Linked DNA regions of Homo sapiens: region 1 is linked to region 2. The links are contacts of gene promoters, found by promoter capture Hi-C in blood cells and fetal thymus (Javierre and others, 2016). All regions are on one chromosome and are shown on one strand. The core of a region is centred on a gene start or on the middle of the fragment in contact, and the rest is flanking DNA. Distances in the headings are between cores, read along the strand shown.

Region 1 (5,425 bases), core at 1,269-3,768, 110 kb before region 2:
AATGTTCAATAGGTCTCGTATATCTTACCCAGTATCAGGGAGTGATCACCTCCTTCTTTGAAAGAAATAACAACTCTGTTTTTCCACTTCAGTGCCAGAGGCCCTCATCGCCTCCACCTACAGGTTAAGAATTCTCACCTCCACCACCCAAGTGTCACCCTGTCGCACTTTCTCTACCTGAAAATCAAGAGGTCTTACATCTTCCAGCTGAATGTCAAGAGGTTGTATTTTACCTATATGAATGTTCTGAAGTCTCCACCGGTATACCAGAGTGTTGGGAGATCTCATTGCCCCCATCTGGGTGCCAGGGCATGTCCTACCCTCTACTTGAATATAGTCTCATATCCCTGTCTAAATGGCATGGAGCTTTCATCTCCTCTGCTAGAGTATCATGAGATCTCCTCTATTCTGGGTGTCCAAAGTTCTCATCTCAACCCCCTGAGGTCTGGAGGTATTCTCACCTCTTCCTGGTTGTCTGGAGGTCTCATCTCCCTTACCTGAGAGTCATGAAACCTCCTATCTCCTATATGCCCTATCTAAGTCATGACACTTTATCTCCTCCGAGTGTCAGGGGATTTTTCTACCTTTATGTCAGGTAGCCCCACTTCCTCTAGCTGAAGGGCATACAAGTTCTATTTCGTGACTTGAATGTGAATAGGTTTCAGCTGCACTACTGAGTGTTAGCGGACCTCACTTATTTTAACTGAGCATCAAGTTGTGTCTCATAAATAACCAGAAAAAGACTTTGGAAATATGGTTCAAGAAATGGCAAGAAGAATTGAAGAAGTGGGCCCAAGTGCAGAGGCTCATGCCTGTAATCCCAGCACTTTGAGAGGGTGAGGCAGGCAGATCACTTGAGCTCAGGAGCCCCAGACCAGCCTGGGCAACACGGCAAAACCCCGTCTGTACAAAAAATACAAAAATTAGCCAGGTGCAGTGGCACCTGCATCCCAGCTACTCAGAAAGCTGAGGCAGGAGAATCATTTGAACCCAGAAGGCAGAAGTTGCAGTGAGCCGAGATCGCACCATTGCACTCAAGCTTGGGCAATGGGAGTGAAACCCTGTCTCAAAAAAAAAAAAGAAGAAGATTAAAGTTTTGACTGTTAAAGAAAATATTATTCGGGTGTTTTTAATGGATAGCACCTATTTCTTTACAAATATTTAGGAGGTATCAATAAAAAAGTCTGAAGACCCAATGTCAGTGTCTGGATTCTAGAAGACCATTACAGTTTGACTCCGCAAAGCTTACCCACTTCTGATTCTAGAAGGGGCTGCCAGTCATCGTGCCTGCCCGTGGCTATAGTGATGGTTGCGGGAAAAGTACCTGGCCCGGCCCATTTAATTTTGTCATTAAACTAATGGAAGCAACAAACATCTCAACTCAGAGTGACTTTGTCTGACCTTCTTCATGCTGTTCTAAGAGCGAAGGAGAAATGGGTGACAGGTCTGGGGCCAGAGGGTGGGGTCCCATCCGAGGGCATGGCTCAGGCTGAGGCAGAGTGCTCAGCACAGGGGGCAGGATGGGGGCTCCCCATCTCCCCTCAAACTCCTCCCTGCTCTCTGCTTCCACCCTGACCCCCAGGCACCCCTCCAGCTCATCCCAGCCATTCTCGCTGCTCCTGCTCACCCCAACCACCCGCTGCCTTCGCCAGCCGTGCCCACTTCTGTCCCCATGCCTTATTTACCTGGGCAATCCAACTCCCACCCCAGTTTTTCTCACCCTGATCTCCAATCCCTTCCAGCCCCCAATCCCCTACTTTTCCATTCCTGTCCCCACCACCCTCCGTGAGGAGCAGAAACCTTATCCAACCATCCTCAATGTCCAGCCAGCCAGGAAGGCAAGAAGATCCCAGAGGGAGTAAGAATGGTTGACGCAGTGAAACCTTGAGGGCCGAAAAGGGGTAGGTTTCAGGTCTTCACCCAGGGGAAGCAGGTGCCTCGGGGGTGGTTTAAGCAAGCAGGTGAGGGTCTGGGTGGCGCCATGGAGAAGGACGAAGGCCCTTTGAGGCTATGGTTGATGACAGCTTGAAAACCAGCCTCAGGCTGGGCAAGGTGGCCCACACCTGTCATCGAAGCACTTTGAAAGGCTAAGGAGGGTGGAGTTCTAGACCAGCCTGGGCAGCAAAATGAGGCCCCCATCTCATAAAAAATAAAAAAAAAATTAGTCAGGTGTGATGGCCCACGCTTGCAGTCCCAGCTACTTGGGAGGCTGAGGCAGGAGGATCGCTCAATTCCAGGAGGTTGAGGCTACAGTGAGCCACGATCATGCCCCTGCACTCCAGCCTGGGTGACAGGGTGAGACCTTGTCTCAAAACAAAACAAAAGCAGCCTCCATGTCCTGGCCCTGCCCCAAAGTTGTCCACAGGTCTTGGGAGTGGCTGGGGGGTGCCAGCCCACAGGAAGAGCAGAGGCCACACAATTTCAAATTTTCAACATTTCCTAATCCTCATCTTATTTTCAGATTAGAAACTGAGGCCATCATAAGGAAAGGGCTGCACGGGAAGTCAAGGAGGGGGGCCCTGCAAGGGTCTGAGTGTGGGAGCAGGGGGCCCCTGACTCGCTCTGGGCCTGAGTGTGTGGAATCGGGAGGGTGGGTCTCCCTGGGCTGCACATGGAGCCCTAGGCCTCCATGGGGACTCAGAGTCTGGGGCTAGTGGCACTTCTCCACGGTGCCACCGGCCCCACCCCTGGCTAAGGTTAACCACAGAGCCAAGGTATGCGATTGTCATTCTGTCATATTCACGCGCCTCCTCAACCCAGTGTGTCCAGGCTCTGAAACCACTGCCCCTCCTGTAAGCAACCCTCCCCACCGGGGACGTCACATCTCTGCAGCCCCTGGCCTCAGTGCTGGGTCCTGTGCCCTCTACTTTCTCACGGCTCCCTCTTGATTGCCTTTGCCCACTTGCCTTACTGTTTGCCCTTCAAGACATAGCTCACCACCTCCTTCCACTCAGCGAGGGGTCTCTGTCCCTCCTGTTGGCTGGCCACCCCCACCAGGTGCCACCCAGGACGTGTCTTTTTTGCCACATTATCGGCTGCTCACATGACTGCCTGTGCGCTCCTGAAGGACAATGTCTTGTCTCTGGTGCTCAGGGTGGGAGCAAAAAGGAAACCTCACATCCAACTGGGCAGACAACCCAAGGTGAGAAGCACCAACTTGCTCTAATTTGAGATAGCACCAGGGCCGTGCAGACGCAGAGCCTAACATCTAACTGGGACTCCAGGGAGGGCGGGTCAGAGAAAACGTCCTGGAAGACAGGATCCGGAGATCAGCCTCCAAGCTATGTATGCTTGATGCAGGCAAACGATGGGTGATCCAGGCAGAAGGAAGAGGGCATGTGTGAGACAGAGCCCTGAAGCGTCATAGCGGCTCAGGGATTGCAGGAGGTGGGGGGAGACTGGCGAGCAGCATGTGTGCATGGGGAGGGAGCAGGGGATGCTGGCAGGGCCACGGCAGCACTGGCTGGGCCGGACTGGCTCACGGGGTCCATCCATCAGCTGCATTTACAGACAGGCTGGTGTTTGTCAGCAGAGGGCAGAAATGGAAACAGAAAACCAGTGAATCAGCAGGGAAGGAGTGAGGGCTAAATCTGGTCTGCAGCCGTGGGGTAGGACAGTTGCGAGAGATGCGAGCGGGTTCCAAGACAGGAGCAGCAGAATTTAAAAGCAACCGGACGCTGGCGGGAGCAAGTCTTAAACCCTAGGCTTAAAACCTGGCAGGGGTCATGGAGGACAAGTGGCCTCCAGCTTAGGAGGTGCTACTCAGTGGGTTGGTGAACAGAGAAAAGCTTTCGGTGCAGAAGGCATGGGCTGAGTTCCAGCAGACTCGGAGAAGATGCTGGAAGATGCCAGGTGCCTAGGCATGGAGGTCAAAGATAGGGATCTAGGAGTCACCCGTGCATGTGGTCCAGGCTGAGGAGGTTTGTGTGGCCGGTATGAGGGACAGACACAAATATCCCCTCAAGCAGGCAACTGAGCCATGGCTTCATTTCTTATAAATTTATTACATAATAATATTATAATAATTATTATCAATAATAATAATATAAGAAACATAGATCTCTGTGGGGCGTATCACAACGTCAGGGTCAGGAGGCCTCAGGACTGGAGCAGGGGGTGAAACCCCCCGGATGGAACTCCATACAAAAGGAGGTGAAGCGGAACTGACCCTGTAAAGTTAAAAACCCAAATTGAACGGAACCAAAACCCACAGGTGAGTGTGAGACCGAGTGTGTATGTGGCAGTCTGTTACAGTGACTGCTGCTGTGTGACCTGGACTGTTGGCGGAAGGATGAGTGGGTGTGACTCTGTGCCCAGGGAGTGGGGCCGGTGGGCCAGGGCGGGGCGGGCAGGCACAGACCGGCGTGCCAGGCCCCTGGGTTGTGAAAACTTCTGTTTTCTTTTTTTTTTTATTTTATTAAAAAAAGCTAGAAATATAAACAGAAACTTGTGAGTGACGTGGATGGAGCTTAGTCCAGACTCCAAACCCTAGGTTTAAAAACGTCCCAGGGCCCCCCACCCCACAGGTCATCGCTGAGTGTGAGGAGTCACAGTGTGGGGGGCTGGGCACCCTCGGGGGTCTTTGACTCTCCCCAGGGCCTGTGGTGAACTGACTCTAGGGGTCCCCCTATGATGCCCTCAGAAGCCCAAGGTGGGGGCGCTGCCTCCAAGGGGCCCTTGGGGCCTCCCCAAGCAGCAGGGATTCACCAGGGAACCCCGCTCAGGCTGGGTGAGGCTCTGGAAGGACAGGCTGGGCAAACAGCTGGACCCAGGGTGCAGGATGGCCTCTGACTTTCTTTGGAAGAGGAGACAGGGTGCTCTCACAGGTACACCCCACGCATGCACACGGTGCACGCCTCCACGGCCCCGCGCTAGTCCAGAGCGGCCCCTGGTGGCCACTCAGTAATCAGGCACACACACGGCTCCCACGTGCTCAGACGCACCCAGTTTCACCCACACACATAAAGGGCAGGACAGGAGACTTTGGGGTCCAAGGCAGGGAGGCTTCTCTGCTGTAGTTGCCCAAGAGCATGGGGACCAAGCTAGCCCCCTCCTTGGGGAGAGACCCTGTGAGGAAGATGGCTGCGGTGGAGCGGCAGGGCCCTGCCCTCATCCCCCCCGGCCGATGGTCTCCCAGGCCGGCTGGTCCCGCGGGTGCACAGCAGGACCCGCGGCCTGCCGCCCCTCCCACCACGAGCAGCACCTGAAGGGTCGGTGGGGCACACTAGAGCTCAGCGAGGCGAGGGGCCGAGCTGGGGCCCCAGGGCGGGCCACTAGGGCCCTGGCCAACCCCAGACCAGCTGGAGCGTCCCCTGCCCCGTTGTGGGGTGGCAGTGGCAGTGAGGGGCCGGAGATGGAAGACTGGGCAGCTGCAGTGGGACCAGTGGAAGTAGAAGGGAGGGGAGAGGAAACTATTACGGACAGA
Region 2 (5,506 bases), core at 3,007-5,506:
CCCCACAAATACAAATAAGGCAATTGTTTAGAATGAGAGACCTCTAAAATCTTTTTTTTTTTTTAATTTAGGGATCTTTCTAATGTAAAGGATTCATCTTTTGGCTATTGACAATCAGAATTTCCAATGATGTATTTATTCCAATAGCAACTCAATCCAAGAAGCCCCTTCATGGAAAGCCCAAAAGATTATTTTCCAGGTTTAGAGAGGGCATAGAAGAGGAGGTTCCAATGATGCCCCCAAAATTCACTCCCAGGAATAGGCAAAGACAGCAAAAGACTCTTGTTCCCAGAGACAGTTAAGGAACGTGTTTGTACATACAGTGCCTCCAGTAACACACAATCTGTCAGGGGCTGCCAGTCACAGACCCATTAACCTGTAACACAGGGTAGGCCTGTTGGGATTGGGCTTTCTGAGGACTGACCAGGCAACAAACATTGGGATGACAAAAGCCCCTTATGGATGGGCCTGAGGAGAGCAAAAACCACCTGGCGACCATCAAACATCAAACAGGCCCTCCGAGGCAAAACTCCTTATCTGGGGAAAATCAAAAGTAACTAAACCTCCCTATTATCTAAAGCAGGCATCTGGTTCCAGATTTCTTCCCCCAAAAAACGTGTAAGTAACTATAATTTCTATGTGTCTCCAGAATACCATGACGAAACTCACTGTACAACCGTCGCTGACATTAAGGCACCAAAATTACTATAAATGTAATCATTTATCATGACTTACGTGGCTAATATGGTCCAAATTACTGTTAAGCCTCCACTTTAAGGCCTATAAATGCCCTTAAGGAGAAATCCACCCGGCGTACTCAGTCCTCTTGCTGAGGCACCTCATTGCACTCTTCTGCAGCATTCTAATAAACTTTCTTTCTTTTCTTTTTTTTTCTTTTTTTTTTTTTTGAGATGGAGTTTCACTCTTGTTGCCCAGGCTGGAGTGCAATGGTATGATCTCAGCTCACCACAACCTCCATCTCCCAGGTTCAAGCGATTCTCCTGCCTCAGCCTCCCAAGTAGCTGGGAATACAGGCTCCCGACACCATGCCCAGCTAATTTTTTGTATTTTTAGTAGAGATGGGGTTTCATCATGTTGGCCAGGCTGGTCTTGAACTCCTGCCCTCAGGTGATCCACCTGCCTCAGCATCCCAAAGTGCTGGGATTACAGGCGTGAGCCACCGTGCCCGGCAAACTTTCTTTTTTCTTTTTTTTTTTGAGACAGTCTTGCTCTGTCTCAGCTCACTGCAACCTCCGCCTCCCAGGTTCAAGCAATTCTCCTGCCTCAGCCTTCCAAGTAGCTGGGATTACAGCCACGCACCACCACACCTGGCTAAGTTTTATACTTTCAGTAGAGACAGGGTTTCTCCATGTTGGCCAGGCTGGTCTCAAACTCCTGACCTCAGGTGATCCACCCACCTTGGACTTCCAAAGTGCTGAGAGTACAAGCATGAGCCACTATGCCCGGCCAAACTTTCCTTTTTCAAACCTATTGTCGGTAAACTCTTTTTACCAACCCGCAAGTTGACCACCACTCCCAGTGCCGGGGCTCTGACAGCTCGCCTGGCAGGGACTTCTTAAGACAAACTAAAAGCTTGACACATTCAGAACAAAAACGGTGCTGCTTAAAATATTAAATGTCTTGGGTTCCCAACCATTTTCAGACTGACCACAAAATGTGACCTGCGAGTCACTACCTCGGATTGGCAGAGGCCAAGAGAGTGCTCCTGAGGTAGGAGGTGGGACTTAGTTGACCCAGTTGAGGATTGGCTAAAACAGGGTTGGGGCAATAGCAGCTTTCAGTCAGATATGCCCGCCACTGTGCCATGTCAGTTTACCATTGCCATGGCAACACCCAGGAGTTGCCACCCCTTTCCATGGCAATGACCCAATGATGACTACTCCTTCCCTAGAAACTTCTGCATAAACCATCCTTTAATCTACATGCAATCAAAAGTGCGTATAAATGTGACTGCAAAACTGCCCTGAGCTGCTACTCTCAGCCTACGGGGTGGCCCTGCTCTGCAGGAGCAGTCACAGAGCTCTAACGCCACCTGTTCAATAAAGCTGTTTTCTTCTACCTCTGGCTTGTCTTTGAATTCTTTCCTGGGCAAAGCCAAAACCCTCACTGGCTAAGCTCCACTCTGGGGTCTGCCTGGCCTGCATCATTCCCACTCGCTCACAACTCAAGCTTTCAAGGACATCAAAAGAGAGGAGAATCTCATCCAGTTTTCAGTTCAGGGACCCACAGCAAAGTCTGTCTAACTAGACGCATCCGATCAGAGCTGCAAAACTGACTAGCCTGCAGGACGGCCCCAAGACGGGGTTTACAGGGGTTTTAGGCCTGTGTTCTACCCTCTTTATGACAGAAAAACACAGAAAGACAAGAATGAAAGACGACTATTTCTGGGGAAAAAAAGCAATCAAACAATATGAATACAAAACTAATCACATAAATACATTTCTCTCATTAAAACTTTGAAGAGGAAAACAAGGTAAACAGACATTTTTACCGTCGGCTTGACAAGATTCCAGAGAGGCCGGGAGCCTGGCTGCTAAGACCTTCTTACCCTTCTTTCTGCCAGCTTGTCGGCTCCTGGGTTCCCCTGACGGAGGCTCCCAGGAGAGTGACTTTAGTTATCCTACCGACTGCACCAAAACTGTAGGAGCCTAGAGAAAAACTTTTCTGCATTCTGAGTTCACAGAAAATCAACTGACAAAAGCCAGGTTAGTAAGAAAAAAGGCATACAGATTTATTCATGCACACAGGGAGAACCAGAGTGATGACCCCAACCTCCCAATGGGGTTCGGAAGCTTATATACCATCTTGAGGTTACAGAAAGAACATGGGCTCAAAGTATGGCCACAGTTTATGGTGGAAAATCAGGTGACCAGTGGCAAGACCGGTTACAGGAGGGAGAGCAGAGGAGGCCTGGCTAGCAAAGGTGGCCTTGTTCTACAGATGAAACCTCACAGGTAGCAGCCCTGAGAGAGAACAGATGGTGAATGTTCCCTTCAGGCCTTTAAAGGCGTCAGACTGTTACTCTTCCCAGATCAGGCAAGGAGGGCCTCAGAGGAGGCCTGGCCGCATCAGTGTAGATTCTCTCCACAGATGCAAATCTCCCCCACAAAAGACAGCTTTTCAGCTATTCTTCTATTTCCAGTCCTTCTGAGTAACTGTCTTGAACCGTGTCAAGGAAATATATTTGGAGGTGACATATTGTGTTTTCCTTCAAGATCAAAAAGGTTAAGTCCAAGGCTGCCCAACGAGGGAGCGAGGACCCAATCACGTTGTCCTCAGATGAGTTTTTCCCCAGCAGCGTAACCCTGCAACAGGCCAGACTGGACCCCAGACACACATTCCACACCACACCACGCCTCCACCACCACACGCACACAACAGACACACCCTAAACACCAGACACACACACACACCTCAACCACCGCAAACACACATACGCCACACCTCTAACACCACACACACCCAACACCACACACATACGTGCCTCAAACACTACACACACCTCAACCACCATACACCTCAACCACACACACCCCTCAAACACCAAACACACCCCTCAACCACACACACACACCCCTCAAACACCACACACCCACCTCAAACACCACACACACATATCCCTCAAACACTACAAAAACACACACACACACCTCAAACACCACACATGCACACACACCTGAAACACCACACACCTGCCTCAAACACTCCACACACACCACACACAGACACGTACACAGCCCCCCGCACCCAGCCACAGCTTACACGCACACAGACACGCGTACGCAGGAGAAAGGGTGTCAAAGCTTTTGCTAGTCGTGAAGGAAGAGCCCGCAGTCCATGGGGCTGCACGGTTTTCCCTGCCATTTGCTCATTCACCGGGTGCCCATAACGCTCCGCGCTCAGGTCTCTTACAGGAGGGCCCGAGTCTCCCAGTACCGGAGGTCTGGGGGCGCACGAGCCGCTCCTCCTCTGGAGAAGCTCCGGACCGAGAGGACACCGGACACTGCGCAGCGCCGAGCCCCGCGCGCAGCCCGGGACGCCTCAGCCAGGGCCGACCGCGCAGAGGAAGCTCCCAGAGCCCGTTTCAAGACCGCAGCCAACAGCCTCAGGCGCACACGGCGGCCTCGGAGCGAGCACGCGCAGCAACGCCCCTCGCCCCGGCCCGCCCCCGGCCCCGCCCCCGGCCCCGCCCCCGGCCCCGCCCCGCAAGGGTCACAGGTCACGGGGCGGGGCCGAGGCGGAAGCGCCCGCAGCCCGGTACCGGCTCCTCCTGGGCTCCCTCTAGCGCCTTCCCCCCGGCCCGACTCCGCTGGTCAGCGCCAAGTGACTTACGCCCCCGACCCTGAGCCCGGACCGCTAGGCGAGGAGGATCAGATCTCCGCTCGAGAATCTGAAGGTGCCCTGGTCCTGGAGGAGTTCCGTCCCAGCCCGCGGTCTCCCGGTACTGTCGGGCCCCGGCCCTCTGGAGCTTCAGGAGGCGGCCGTCAGGGTCGGGGAGTATTTGGGTCCGGGGTCTCAGGGAAGGGCGGCGCCTGGGTCTGCGGTATCGGAAAGAGCCTGCTGGAGCCAAGTAGCCCTCCCTCTCTTGGGACAGACCCCTCGGTCCCATGTCCATGGGGGCACCGCGGTCCCTCCTCCTGGCCCTGGCTGCTGGCCTGGCCGTTGCCCGTCCGCCCAACATCGTGCTGATCTTTGCCGACGACCTCGGCTATGGGGACCTGGGCTGCTATGGGCACCCCAGCTCTACCACTCCCAACCTGGACCAGCTGGCGGCGGGAGGGCTGCGGTTCACAGACTTCTACGTGCCTGTGTCTCTGTGCACACCCTCTAGGTAAAGAGGGGGCCGCGCCTCTTCCCCGCCCCGACCCTCCATCCCTTTCCTCCCAATGGATTGCAGGGGGGCGGGAAAAACGTCTGTCTCTCTCTCTAGGGAAGGCCACATTTCTGTCTGTCTCAGGGACTCTGTGACTTGTCCCGCAGGGCCGCCCTCCTGACCGGCCGGCTCCCGGTTCGGATGGGCATGTACCCTGGCGTCCTGGTGCCCAGCTCCCGGGGGGGCCTGCCCCTGGAGGAGGTGACCGTGGCCGAAGTCCTGGCTGCCCGAGGCTACCTCACAGGAATGGCCGGCAAGTGGCACCTTGGGGTGGGGCCTGAGGGGGCCTTCCTGCCCCCCCATCAGGGCTTCCATCGATTTCTAGGCATCCCGTACTCCCACGACCAGGTAGGAACCACCCGGGCCCTCAGCCACCCTCCCACCTCCCAAAGTCCCCCAGCCCTTGATGCTCCCGCAGCCCCACCTGCCAGCCCAGCCCTCACGGCAGCTGCCCGCCTCAGGGCCCCTGCCAGAACCTGACCTGCTTCCCGCCGGCCACTCCTTGCGACGGTGGCTGTGACCAGGGCCTGGTCCCCATCCCACTGTTGGCCAACCTGTCCGTGGAGGCGCAGCCCCCCTGGCTGCCCGGACTAGAGGCCCGCTACATGGCTT

What was found. The method cuts DNA at HindIII sites, captures the fragments that hold promoters and counts their contacts. A CHiCAGO score of 5 or more calls a contact.
Region 1: a contact is called between a fragment that was not itself captured here and the fragment with the promoter of ARSA in region 2, in 1 of 17 cell types (endothelial precursors). The highest score is 5.6, in endothelial precursors.

The regions. Positions count from the first base shown.
Region 1 is chr22:50,731,772-50,737,196 of GRCh38, reverse strand. LOC105373100 (a long non-coding RNA gene) reads left to right here. Exons shown (of 2, transcript NR_134637.1): 2 at 93-1,368. It overlaps SHANK3 (SH3 and multiple ankyrin repeat domains 3), which reads right to left. Exons shown (of 25, transcript NM_001372044.2): 25 at 3,985-5,425. Among named protein-coding and RNA genes, the nearest start is that of ACR, 3.7 kb to the left of the region's middle. The HindIII fragment of the contact is 2,544 bases long and covers 1,247-3,790 here.
Region 2 is chr22:50,626,902-50,632,407 of GRCh38, reverse strand. ARSA (arylsulfatase A) reads left to right here and starts at 4,256. Exons shown (of 8, transcript NM_000487.6): 1 at 4,256-4,852; 2 at 5,002-5,242; 3 at 5,356-5,506. The coding sequence starts at 4,629. LOC124905149 (a long non-coding RNA gene) reads right to left here and starts at 914. Exons shown (of 2, transcript XR_007068161.1): 1 at 1-914. RefSeq lists a silencer at 4,172-4,361 and an enhancer at 5,296-5,506. The HindIII fragment of the contact is 2,215 bases long and covers 3,827-5,506 here.